Linked DNA regions of Homo sapiens: regions 1 and 2 are each linked to region 3. The links are contacts of gene promoters, found by promoter capture Hi-C in blood cells and fetal thymus (Javierre and others, 2016). All regions are on one chromosome and are shown on one strand. Each heading gives the region's core, a stretch centred on a gene start or on the middle of the fragment in contact. The rest is flanking DNA. Distances are from core to core; before and after follow the strand shown.

Region 1 (4,303 bases), core at 1,336-3,835, 290 kb after region 3:
GTTTTGCCTCAAACTACCTTTTATTTGCAACTACATGATTTCATGCAATTCTTCTAAACAACGACATAAAATAGATTTCCTTGTTTATAAATAACTTAAATATGCCCCATATAGTACATGCTGAAAGTTGCTAGAACAGTTCATCCACTCCTATAGTATTCTGGTATCCAACAGAGTTGATGCACATATATAAATGCCAAGTCCAATATTAAAAACTCAGGCAACTGACTAACTTTAATAAAGTTTCCCAAACTATGTCAATATACCTAAAAATGCGTATATGTACAAAAGAAAGATTATTCTCAATAACTTCTATAAAAATAAATTCAATTGTTTGTTCCATCTAACTTCACTACTATTAGTATGAATTTTTAGTGTATGGTAAGATTTATTTTACCTTTTTCTCAACATGACACCAACACAGTCAAAAGGAGCTAGTGAGGTGCTAACATGCGAGAATTAACCCAGTGATTCTGGTCACAATGCATTTCAGGTAGAGGTACCTATGTCACTGGGATTGGGTGATATGGTTTATTTTCATTCCCTGATTTAGATAACCAAATGGATCAGATAGAGATTCTGATGGGCATTCCTTCAAAAGAATTTTTTAAGAAGCAGAAATAAAGGAGAAGGCCACTGCCTAGCTTTACTAGAGAGAATGCCACATCTTAGCTGTGGGTCTCATAATCTGCAGGGTTAGCGCACAGACCTCAGATGTTGCTGTTTACAATTCATTCTCGGATTGGCAGGTGTTTGTTGTTCCTTGAAGCTAGAGGCACTGGGCTCACTAATCGTTCTGAGAAAAGAAGCTAATCCAAGATCTTACCAATTCAGCATACTTCTTGAATAAAAAATCAAACTTTTCTTCCGGTGTTTGCAACTTGTTCAGATTTTGCATTAGCAGGTTGGCTTCTTTGCCTTAAAAAAAAAAGACATGAAAAAAATAAGTGTTGAATTTACAGTCAGGTGATAAGGGCTGGAGTCTCAGATTGACCACTTGCTAATTATTCCCAACCTTGGCTAAGCCATTCATCTTATCAGATGTAATTTTCTTTCCTATAGAAATGATGACACCTACCTTACAGAGTGAACATTAGTTGGGAAGTTTGTGAATGTGTGGTACGGTGTGAGGTTCATGGCAGACTCTCAATAAATGTTTGCTATAACAGAAGTCTCCCAGTTTTCATCACAAGAATCCGTTCTTATTTCTCCTCCCTGTATTCTTCAGAATCAAAAGATTTTATACATCAAAAATACTTTCTGAAAGAATACGTCACCCGTTTTCCCACTTGAATTAACAAAAAGGAAGCAAAACAGCCAATCAAAATTTCCGACTAGTATGAAACAGCAACACGGAGTTGCTGGGATTCCAGCCAGAAGCAGAGAAGCTTGATGAAGTAGCCTGCCCGTTTTTTCCCCTGTGTTTTTTGTTCTTTTGGTACTTCTTTTCCCTCTTTTAGGGGGAACCAAGTTTCTCTTTTTTGTACATAAACCCATTCCCTGGCGTTGGAGTGGGAATAACTCTGATCCTGTTTCCTACCAAATAGAATAAAATCATTATAGAAGGAAAACCAAGTAAAGACATGGAGAGCCTTTCCACAAGCCTTTTTCTGTCTCTGTGATAATGGACACAGCCTTCTCTGGCCTTCCTTTCCCCCACCTAGGCCTTAATATCCGTTGGCAGTTTCATTTTGTTTCCAGTTGGAGTTTATGCTACACTAAAAAAAAATTAACCCTGTTAAATAATCATGAAAGGGTGGGGCATTTTTCCCATCCCTACCTATCTATGAAAACCACTCTGTTTAATCAGAATAGGGTGGTCAAGCCACACAACAAAGCCCACACTTCCTGACATAAATCTGCTTAAGAAAATTGACAACCTTTCCCCCAAGAACAGACATTTCCCCTTGGCTAGAGTACTTGCTTTCATCTTGGAGAGGCATATATGTCATGAAATTAGGATTGCCAGATGAAATATAGGACATGGGGCATATTTGTACTAAAAAATGATTCGTTGTTTACCTGAAATTCTAATTTTTCTGGACATCCTGTATTTTCCTTTGCTAAACCTGGCAACTTTACATGGAATCAAGGAATTTTAGGTCTAGAAGGAATTTCAAAGAGCATCCAGACTAACCGGTTAATTTTATGCATTTTAGTATTTAAGGCCCAGAAAAGTCCAAAGTTACATGATTAGTGCTGGCAGAGAGAAGGCTTGAATCCAAGGCTAGCCTACTTGTTCTAAGTCACTCCACTCTCATGTGGAATTCTGATGCTAGAGAGACCTAGAGAAATAGAAGGCAACTTTTTTTTTAAATGACCTCATTCCCAACAGTTAGTTTTGTCTATCTTTGCCTAGTGAGTCAGTTCAGATTAGCCTAAAACAGGGGAAGGTGGGTGTGAGTAGGGTCCCTCCCAGCTCTCCAATTATGGCCTGTGGCATTTGCAGCTGATAATCACTGACGCCTCGCCCCTGCCAGGCATGTGCTTTGGGTTATCCCTCTACTGACAGGGATGGATTTGCATTGGTCAGGCCATCCCTTCACCTTTGTCTTCAGTCCAGGGAAGGTGCCCACATGAAGACTACAATCTCAAGTTAGAGTGTCATCTATTAAAGTCAAGAGACTACTCTTGATCATTCTTGGCCCAGGATGCAACACAGTGTTTGGCCCATGGCAAGTGCTCAGTAAATGATGATAATAATAGAATAAAACAAAGCTGGCCAGGCACGGTGGCTCACGCCTGTAATCCCAACACTTTGGGAGGCTAAGGCGGGCGGATCACGAGGTCAGGAGATCAAGACCATCCTGGCCAACATGGTGAAACCCCATCTCTACTAAAATACAAAAACTTAGCTAGGCTTGGTGGTACATGCCTGTAGTCCCAGCTACTCGGGAGGCTGAGGCAGGGGAATCACTTGAACCCAGGAGGCAGAGATTGCAGTGAGCTGAGATTGCACCACTGCACTCCACTGCAAAAAACAAACGAACAAATAAAAAAATCAAAGCCAACTAGCTCAAACTCGTATCATGTGAATCAAATAAACACTGTCATGAAAACAATTTTTTGTGACCAACTAGAGGAAAAACAGGTCTTACTCTCACCTGTGATGTTTTATGTATCCTGGAATACCTCTCAGTGTGTGTACCGACATGTGAAACCATTACCTGTCTTGTTTGGGAGAGATAGAAATGAGTGAGTCCAAAGGTTCTTGCTTTCTTCCCACATTAAGTATCTTCTCCCCTTTGGTTTTATTTTCTGTGACTGTGAGAAGAGGTTTCTTTTTGGTTTTGTTTGTTTTGTTTTTTACTCTTCACACTCACTGAGGTCTCTTTCTGCTCTACTGTGTTATTTTGTATAGAAGGTTAACATCCAGGTGCATCAATATGCCTTCAAAAATTATTCTTCCCTTCAACAAAAAATCCAGGAAACAGAATTTCTATTTGTAAGTCTCACAGGAAAAGCACTAAAACTGGAGATTAATTAAAAAAAATCCAGGAAACTGGAGATGGGCATGTGCAGAATTCATAAATTTACAACATCACTGACCTCAGTTTTTAAACTTCCATTGGTGTTGTGGGACTAGGGTGCTATGTGAAGTAATCATGGAGGAGGGGAGTAGACAGAGACTTGCTCATCATCTACAAAAGGCTATCATTACATCTCCATGGAAATAGGGTCATTTGGTGACAGTGTCAAACAAAAGAGGAAAAACTGACTTTATTCAGGGACGCTTTATCAGGAAGGAATCACCTGCCTTCTCCCTAATGTGTTCTTCCAAAGCAAGCTTCATTTCTTCCTCATGAAAGCTAGGAAGGCATGTGGGCATGTAGCCACCACACTGCGAAATGCTCAGCGTGGTAGGAAGTCTACATGAAAGTGGAACCACCTGTGTAGCAGACACAGCGCTGTTGCATAAGGCTGTGGTCACTGGCACAGTTTTATTGGAAGGTGGAGAAATTATTTTTACATCAAAGAAACAAAAAAACTGGCCGAGCGTGGTGGCTCATGCTTGCCGAGGCGGGCAGATCACGAGGTCAGGAGATCGAGACCATCCTGGCCAACGTGGTGAAACCCTGCCTCTTCTAAAAATACAAAAATTAGCTGGTGTCGTGGCACATGCCTGTAATCCCAGCTACTCTGGAGGCTGAGGCAGGAGAATCGCTTGAACCAGGGAGGCAGAAATTGCAGTGAGCCGAGACTGTACCACTGCACTCCGGCCTGGCAACAGAGCAAGACTCTCTCTCTAAAAAAAAAAAAAAAAAAAAAAAAGAAAGAAAGAAAGAAACAAAAAACCTGAAAT
Region 2 (4,077 bases), core at 644-3,143, 270 kb after region 3:
GAAGGCGGATCACCTGAGGTCAGGAGTTCAAGACCAGCCTGGCCAACATGGTGAAACCCTGTCTCTACTAAAAATACAAAACAAGTAGCCTGTTGTGGTAGTGGGCACCTGTAATCCCAGCTACTTGGGGAGGCAGGAGAATCGCTGGAATCCTGGAGGCTGAGGTTGCAGTGAGCTGAGATCACGCCACTGCATTTCAGCCTGAATGACAGAACGAGACTCTGTCTCAAATAAATAAATAAATAAATAAATACAAAACAACTTGCTCAGAGTGTCTCTGACACTGAGGTAGACCAGATATGCACAACGACTAAAATGATAAATACATATTCCTTTTCTCGTTTGTGTCGCTCCTCCGCTTCCTTCATCATTTCTTGGGCCTGCTCAAGCTTTGCATCCACCAGCTTCTGCTGCAGTTCTCTGTGTTTAAATATTTTGTCCAGATGCTAAGAAAAATAAAGTGTACATAGAAAGCTTGGTTTATTATTGGTGCTTAAAAATGCAAAGTAAAATAATTCACATTAATACACATTCCCCAGGTTTTAAGATTTAAAAGAAGAGAGGGATAAATGCATTGGCATCACTTACAGCTTTATAATAAAGCTGTAAATTGGTGAACCCCTCCCCCTGACTTTGCACCACACACACAAAGCTAGCTATAAAAGGTAGAGGCACCAGAGTTCAGCAGTGTCAATGCCAAAAGATCCATACAATATTTTTCTACGTTTGGTAACTATTAGATATGATGCTATTTATTATGCTAGACAGCACAGACAATGATGTATCAGTATACAATATACAGGGGCTACAGTTGTATCATTTGGTATTTTGGCTCTTTCTGTGAATATAAAACCACTTTTAATTGCAACACTTGTGCAATTTATCATGATGAATTCTCTGCATTCTTGCCTCTGGCGTTGTGAGAAAGCCTTGGGGTGCCAGCATGTGGTCCGAGGTCTGGGAGTGAGGCCTGAGCCCCCCTGAATTCTACTCTGTTGCTCTGGTGGAGATGACAAGGCCAAGGGTCATAGAGAAATTGAGTCGCAAATGTGCAGAGCTCGCCACACCTTTTGACCTCTGGACTAGTTTGGTCAAGAGAAACTTCCAACTCTACCTCAGGATGGATAAATTCCTGGTCACTGGGAGGTCCAATCAGAAACAGGACATGGAATTCTCCCCTTGGGCTTTACTTAGAACCAGTCCCAGGAATATACAACTAGCATAGCAGCCCATTCCCATCTGAGATCTCTCTGAAGAATATGGACATTTTCCTTTCACTCCTTCCTATCTTCTTTAGTCTGAACCTCCATTCTGGAGCGGGATTGATCCTTATGACAAGATAAAATGGTAGCATGGCATTTTGGCTTACTATTAGGAGTTTCTTGATTTACCTAACCACCGCGACCATATGCTGTTGGCTCAGTTTTGTGCTTGATAAAATCTTAGCATGTTACCAACAGAGCCGCTTTGACTATGTTATGTTACATTTTAAAGCAGAGATTTAAAATTTGGGTGGGATAGGGAAAGGAATATGATGTGTCAAAATCCTGAGAGGGTATCTGGAATCTTAAAAATATATTAAATATTAAAATATAATTTGGGTATAACAAAAGACCTTGATCATCCCCCTAATATAACCTATTCAAAGTAAAAGGCTTTTGCCTCTTGTGACTGTGGGTAAGTGGTTTAATCTCTTAGCTTCTGCTTCTCATCTATAAGATATGGATAATATATTATTATCTAATGCATAAGATTGTTGAGACAATTAAATGCCATATGGTATGTAAAGTACAGCACTTAGCACATTGCCTGATACAAACTAACCACTGAATAAATGATATCATTATTATTACAATGATTACATTATTAATACTATTATTGGCCTGGTAGGGTACATAGAATACAGACTCTTTTTTTTTTTTTTTTTTTTGAGACGGAGTCTCACACTGTCGCCTGGGCTGGAGTGCAGTGGCGTGATCTCAGCTCACTGCAACCTCCACCTCCTGGGTTCAAGAGATTCTCCTGCCTCAGCCTCTCGAGTAGCTGGGATTACAGGCGCCCACCACCACGCCTGGCTAATTTTTTTTTGTATTTGTAGTAGAGACGGGATTTCACTATGTTGGCCAGGCTGCTCTCGAACTCCTGACCTCTTAATCCACCTGCCTTGGCCTCCCAAAGTGCTGGGATTACAGGCGTGAGCCACCGCGCCTGGCCAGAATACAGACTCTTAATTTAGATGACATGGCAATTCTTAAGAGGGAGTGCGTGAGTTATTTTTGGCTATAGAGAGAGGATTTTTAAAAGGCTGAGAAATATTATTTTCAAGGAAAACTGTGCCCACAGCCTATCACTTTCTATTTATTGCCTTTACTTTGTAGTGATGCCAGTTTTGAAGAAATCCCATATGACTTTCAGTCAGGTATTTTGTAAGACCATCTGTCTTCATTTTGGCTCGTCAAGGAAATCCAATCCTAAATATTAATCAGTTGAGAGGGCTGGCTGTAACTGTCTTATTAACCAAGTTCCCACCTTTAGCTCCCAGATCCGGATCTATGTACTGTTCTAAGTTGTTTGATGTGGTTCTCACCTCCTCTCTGAGCTCATACTGATCGATGATGCTTTTCAGCTTTTCTGCAAGCTCTGTGTTCTCCTGACAGAGCTTCATATTTCGCTCACTCTGCTGCTCGATCTGGCCCTGGATGTCCGTGAGGGTACTCTGGAAATGGCTTGTGATTTCCTTCCTTTTCTCTTCTTCCTCACGTGCCCGCTGAAGCGCCTCTTCCTGCGGATAAAAAGCAAAACATTTTGTTTAAATGCACCCCGGGTTTATAGAACTCAGCATTAGGTCACCTAAAGGAGATAAGTGTGCAGAGTAGGTGGGATGTTTTTTCTCAGTTCTCTAGAGCTAAAGCTGCTCAGCCCCAAAATAAATGTATGAGTAAAGGTTTCAGCTGTGAGTACATAGTTACTCAGAACAGGTGCTGTGAAGGCCTTGAATTTGTAGTCAGTGATGAATAGACTTGTTTTAAAGATGATGCGTCTCTTGCTGAGTGAATGAACTGCAGCGATTTCTAACAAACACACAGTCACACGATTTTGATCTCTTGGCTGTGGCCTGAAAAAAAGGCCACTTGAGTTTACTGATGGATGAGACAGATCATGTGTTTCTCTGGTTTGGTAAAGGGAGAACAATAGATCTTATATTTCCCTGTAAAAACCATGGCATATTAACCACATAATTATATTACCAAGTTTTGTAAATATAAGTGATCACAATAAAAATTTTCTATTTGTGAGAAAAAACTTTCATCAAAAAGCTTTAAAAAAGGAAACTAAGACAGCATAGCTCAATTACAGCCATTCAAGAATATAAAAGGGAATCTTTCCAAACATGCTGGATATTATTTTGTTTTTGAAAGAACAATCATTAAATGTGTCACATAGGGTAATTAAAATGTTCAATGTAAATTTTGAATCTGAAAGCAATATTAAGTTTCAAATCTTCTTTAACTCTAAAGTGAAACATCTAATTTTCCTTCTTCCGCTTTGTTAACATTGAAGAATTGCAAATTAACTTTTATATCATTTCTGTTCTCTTTTCTCCTAAATCAAAACTCTCCATTCATTGCTAGCCACTAACAATGAGCTCCAATTTCCTCCATATCTATATTGAGAATTGCTTTGCGATTGTTATTCTTTTTGAATAAAAGGGTTTAATTTTGCTACATCCTACCAAAGATAGAGACATTTACGTGGCTGACAAATGATACAGACATTTTAGGATTCCTTTCAGTTCTGATTAATTGTTAATATGAAAGCTTGCTTCGTTGTTGGCAAGTAAAATTATACTGAATTTGATTGCCTACCAAGTTCAAATTATGTAACAGGATTTTTTAAAAGAAATAATAATTTTTAACAGAAGTAATTGTACAGACCTTTATCATAACAGAATAATGTGATCCAAATAAAAACTGATGCTGAGAATATATGCTCTGAAAATATTTTATCATTAGGTTTCTTCTTTCCTCTATAATAACAACACATTTCCCAACTCTAATGTGACTCCTGATGTCAGAA
Region 3 (4,189 bases), core at 551-3,050:
ATGAACATACTTATGCTTGAAAATGGAAAGTGCCTGACCCAAAGTCACACTGCTGGTTAACAGCAGAGTAGGGTCAAGGACCCAGCCTTCAAAACCCTGGTCCAATGCTTTGCAGTCCACTACATACACCTATACATGTGGCTTTAAATTTTGGAGATGTGGATAACTAGCTTGGATCAATATAAAAGATGAAAGCTTAAAACCTGTTCCTAACATACTGTTTAGACAGACTCCTACTAGCAGCTATGAATCATTAAACAGAGTAGCATTAATGCTCACCACATACATTAGATAAGAACTTCTAGGAAGTCCTCTGTTTCAAAAGCAGATATGATAAAAAAAGGCTTTAAACCTACAGGGTTTGCTCCTCCAGGGCTTCAGATTAGGGCAAATAACGCACTTCTGCCTACCAGCTGTTCAATACTCATCTCCCAACCCAAATCCACAAGTTCCACAAATGCTTTCGAATGCCTGTTGAAAAACATTGTTCAGTCTCATCACATACACACGTTCTACAGATAATTACAACTTCTTGTATGCCTACTTGTAAAACTACTAAGTAGTTCACATTTTAAAAAATTTCCCTAAGAATTTTGCTTCCTTTAAAAAAACTGCTTCTTCGATTCCTAAATCTATAGAACTCACTTTATCACGTCTTCTCGGTTAATCCAAGAATTAAAAAAACCATTTTGCCCATACTGATAACTTTACTACTCTGCAGGATCCGAAAAGCTCTCTATATGCCAGGTTCTAGGATTCACACACATTAACAACCTAAGATCCTTCAAGTGAGATAGCTCTTGCAGTACAGAGCACAGATTCTCAGGGTCGTGGGGGATACCGGCTGAGGCTCTTCAGACCCCCACCACAGGAGTTCCGTCCTCTAAGGGCAACCCCCTCCCCCTTGGCCGCGGCGCGAGTCCAGGCCTCCCGGGCACCTGCGGCCCCTGCCCGCTGCGGGGACCCCCCGAGGAACCAGCCCCCCGCCGGGCCCCAAGGAATCGGCGCCCACTCCCACTCCTGGAGGCCAGTGACTGCAGGCCTAAGCCGCCCGCCGGCCCCGGGACGCGACGTTACCTGTAGGACCACGTCGTTCGGCAGCTGCGCGGCCCGGAACAGCTCCAGCACCCGCCCGTTGACCACCACCTTCTTGGTGCTCTCAATGTCGCAGTAGGAGAAGAGATCTGAATAGTATTTCTGCTCCGCATCGCTCAGCGTTAAGCCTTCCATCTTCGCCTCCGGCTCACGGCCGCCCCGCCCCGCATGCACTACTCGGGGCCCGGCCCCAGGAACCTGGGCCGGCAGGGGCTGCGCGTGGCCCGGCCTCCTGCTAGCTTCCCGAAAACGCCGGCCCCGGCCTCACACGCGCCAGGTGCGCCCGAGCAACAGGGCCCGGAGGTCGCGAGGAGGGGGCCCGGCTGCGCTCGCCGCGCCGCTGCCTGCGAGGCCCGGCGCGCGGCTGCGGCTGCGGCTGCGACTACGGCTCCGGCTCCGGCTCCGGCTCCGGCCGCGGGGAGGGTGCAGAGAAAGAGGCGGGGGCCGCGGAGGCGCGAGGCACTGGCGGACTCCGCCCCCGCCGCGGGTTCGAGTCTCCCCGGCTCCCTGCCGATTCCCCCAGACTTCCCGCCTCGGCTTCCCCTTCCGTCCACGCCTCCGGAGCGGCAGCGCTTCCCGGAAAGTTGTGGGGCTTCGAACCTAAAGTTTCGGGGGATCTGGGCTGAGCGTGGCCGCCGCTCCGCCTCCCTCCGCCGCCATTTACAGTGCCCCGGCCCGGCCCCGACGCGCCCGCACCAACAGTGACAGCGGCGGCCGCGCTCCAGACCCGGATGTGAGGCCGGGAGGAGAGAGCGCGAGAGGGAGAGAGAAACACCCACCGGGCTGGCTTGGCCGCTCCCGGGAGAGGGAGGAGGCCGCAGCGCCCCCTGGTGGCCGGCGCCCGGCGGCGGGATGACCGAGCCGCCCTCTGCGCGGAGATCTCAGCAGCAAGACCCCCGGAAAGGGGGGTGCAGTGGGAAACAGCCGGCAGCTCATTAAGACCGAGATAACTAAGATCCGGGTTGCAGTTTTTATGTTTCGCAGTTTCTGGTCCTAAGCGTCTGAATAATTGGATTGAAAGGGGAGCCTTGTTCAGGTTATTATCATTCTATCTGTACCTTTTCGGTACAGATGAAGATAAATGCAGTATTTCCATCTGTTCTGAAGGGCTATGAACATCCGGGCTATGAACATCCTGGCTATCCGGGAAGCCTCCACGTAGACACCAACATTGAGGCTTCATCTCACTCGTGCTTCAAGCCATGTTTACCTGAGAAACAAAATGTGCTGAATAGAGGGGAAAACTGGCAAAGTTGTCCTCTTTGTTCACCAGGTCATTCCGGTCACTGGGAACTTAATACTCTACATTTATACCTTCAACTCTATCAACTCATGTAGGCCCGGGGCTGCCCACAGGGGCTGCCTTCCGTATTTTCTCCTTTATGAAAATCATGGAGTGGCGCTCTTTTAATCTGCACCTGTCCCAGAGAGGGGATTCTTCAGCTATTTCAAGTAGAATATCTTAAGAATTTATACTTAGCAAATATAAAATACTTCAAAGACGGGAGCTAAGGCAGAATTACCCAGAGTTCTGGTTTTTATTTTGTCTTCTACAAGTTGTTTCCCAGAGTGCGGATCCTATAAATGACACATATGAGGAAATTATTACAGGTTCCCAGTCATTTATCTGTAATTGCAAAATTCAAAGCGCACTGAAAACCCAAAGACTTTTTTTTGTAACCCTTTGGAAGTAAAACCTGCCCTGCCTCATTTGGAGGCAAAATCTAAACTAAGCTTGCATGAAGCTATTTCTAGCCTTTATGGATCCCACTTAGTGTCAATATTTACTCATTTCACTCCAGGTCTTTGTAGAATGTTAATATGTACACAGTCACAGGCATTCTATTATCTTTCTATTTTTTAAGAAAGATAAGGGATTTTAGACCTGTCAATGTCTTCTGACTTGACTAGTAGTATTTGATAAAGGTAAGTATATACTATCCATTAAGCTTATTTCCCATCTCTAAGACTTTCAGTTTGCTACAGCAGCCCCTCATGTGTCCTTTCAGGGCACCTGCAGCAAGTGATCAGACCCCCCCCAGACAGCTGCCTTCCAAAGGTGTAAACAGAAAGAGCACAATGGGGTAGGGATTGGCTCACAATTGTCTTTGCATCTTTTTCTCTGCCACCTCTCCTAGGCCTTGCAGCTCTTGTCGGCCCCAGGGCCTTTGTTCCTGCCATCTAAAATAGTCCTTCCACAAACCATGGCATGGCGTATTCTCTCATATGGTTTCAGGTCCCTGCTCATATGTCACCTCCTCAGAGCAGCCTTCCTGCAACAGCTGCTGTAAAATAATCCCACCATGCACTATCCCCTTATCTGAATTCCTTTTTTTTCTCTTTTGAGACAGAGTCTCCCACTGTCACCCAGGCTGGAGTGCAGTGGCATAATCTTGGCTCACTGTAGCTTCGACCTCCCAGGCTCAGGTGATTCTCCCACCTCAGCCTCCCAGGTAGCTGGGACCACAGGCCCAGGCCACCATGCCCACCTAAATTTTGTGTATGTGGCTTTTGTAGAGACAGAGTTTTGCCATGTTACCCAGGCTGGTCTCAAACTCTTGGGCTCACCCACCTCAGCCTCCCAAAGCGCTGGGATTACAGGCATGAGCCACTGCACCCAACCTGAATTCTTTTTCTTTATAACACTTTTCACTATCTGACATTACATATATAGCTGTTACATTTTTAACGGCTAATTATTGAATAATTACTAAGTTTCAGGCATTGTTCTAAAGCTTTACACTAATAACCACATTATTCACAACAACCCTATTAAGTGGTACTACTAGGTTTTTTTTTTTTTTTGACAGATTAGGAAACTGAGGCAAAATGGGTTAAGTATTGTGTAAGTCATGTTGCTATTAAATACCCGGATCTGGGATTCAAACTCCAGGCTGTCTCAACTCTAAAAATCACTACCCTATCTTGCCTGTCTAATTTCTTTGTTAAGTTTGTTATTAAGAAAATATTTCTTCACCAGGCATGGTGGCTTATGCCTGTAATCCCAGCACTTTGGGAGGCTGAGGTGGGTGGATTGCTTGAGCTAAGGAGTTCAAGACCAGGCTGGGTAACACGGTGAAACACCATCTCCACC

What was found. The method cuts DNA at HindIII sites, captures the fragments that hold promoters and counts their contacts. A CHiCAGO score of 5 or more calls a contact.
Region 1: a contact is called between a fragment that was not itself captured here and the fragment with the promoter of REPS1 in region 3, in 5 of 17 cell types (non-activated CD4 T cells, activated CD4 T cells, total B cells and 2 more). The highest score is 6.4, in non-activated CD4 T cells.
Region 2: a fragment that was not itself captured here is called in contact with the fragment with the promoter of REPS1 in region 3 in 1 of 17 cell types (total CD8 T cells); the score reaches 5.3 in total CD8 T cells.

What each region holds. Positions count from the first base shown.
Region 1 is chr6:139,276,004-139,280,306 of GRCh38, forward strand. TXLNB (taxilin beta) reads right to left here. Exons shown (of 10, transcript NM_153235.4): 3 at 827-918. All of the region lies in intron 2 of LOC102723690 (a long non-coding RNA gene), which reads left to right. Among named protein-coding and RNA genes, the nearest start is that of TXLNB, 14 kb to the right of the region's middle. The HindIII fragment of the contact is 2,399 bases long and covers 1,387-3,785 here.
Region 2 is chr6:139,259,992-139,264,068 of GRCh38, forward strand. TXLNB (taxilin beta) reads right to left here. Exons shown (of 10, transcript NM_153235.4): 5 at 2,588-2,782; 6 at 327-446. Among named protein-coding and RNA genes, the nearest start is that of TXLNB, 30 kb to the right of the region's middle. RefSeq lists an enhancer at 2,217-3,416. The HindIII fragment of the contact is 2,843 bases long and covers 473-3,315 here.
Region 3 is chr6:138,986,453-138,990,641 of GRCh38, forward strand. REPS1 (RALBP1 associated Eps domain containing 1) reads right to left here and starts at 1,801. Exons shown (of 20, transcript NM_001286611.2): 1 at 1,078-1,801. The coding sequence starts at 1,230. RefSeq lists silencers at 1,303-1,602, 1,793-2,032. The HindIII fragment of the contact is 2,634 bases long and covers 194-2,827 here.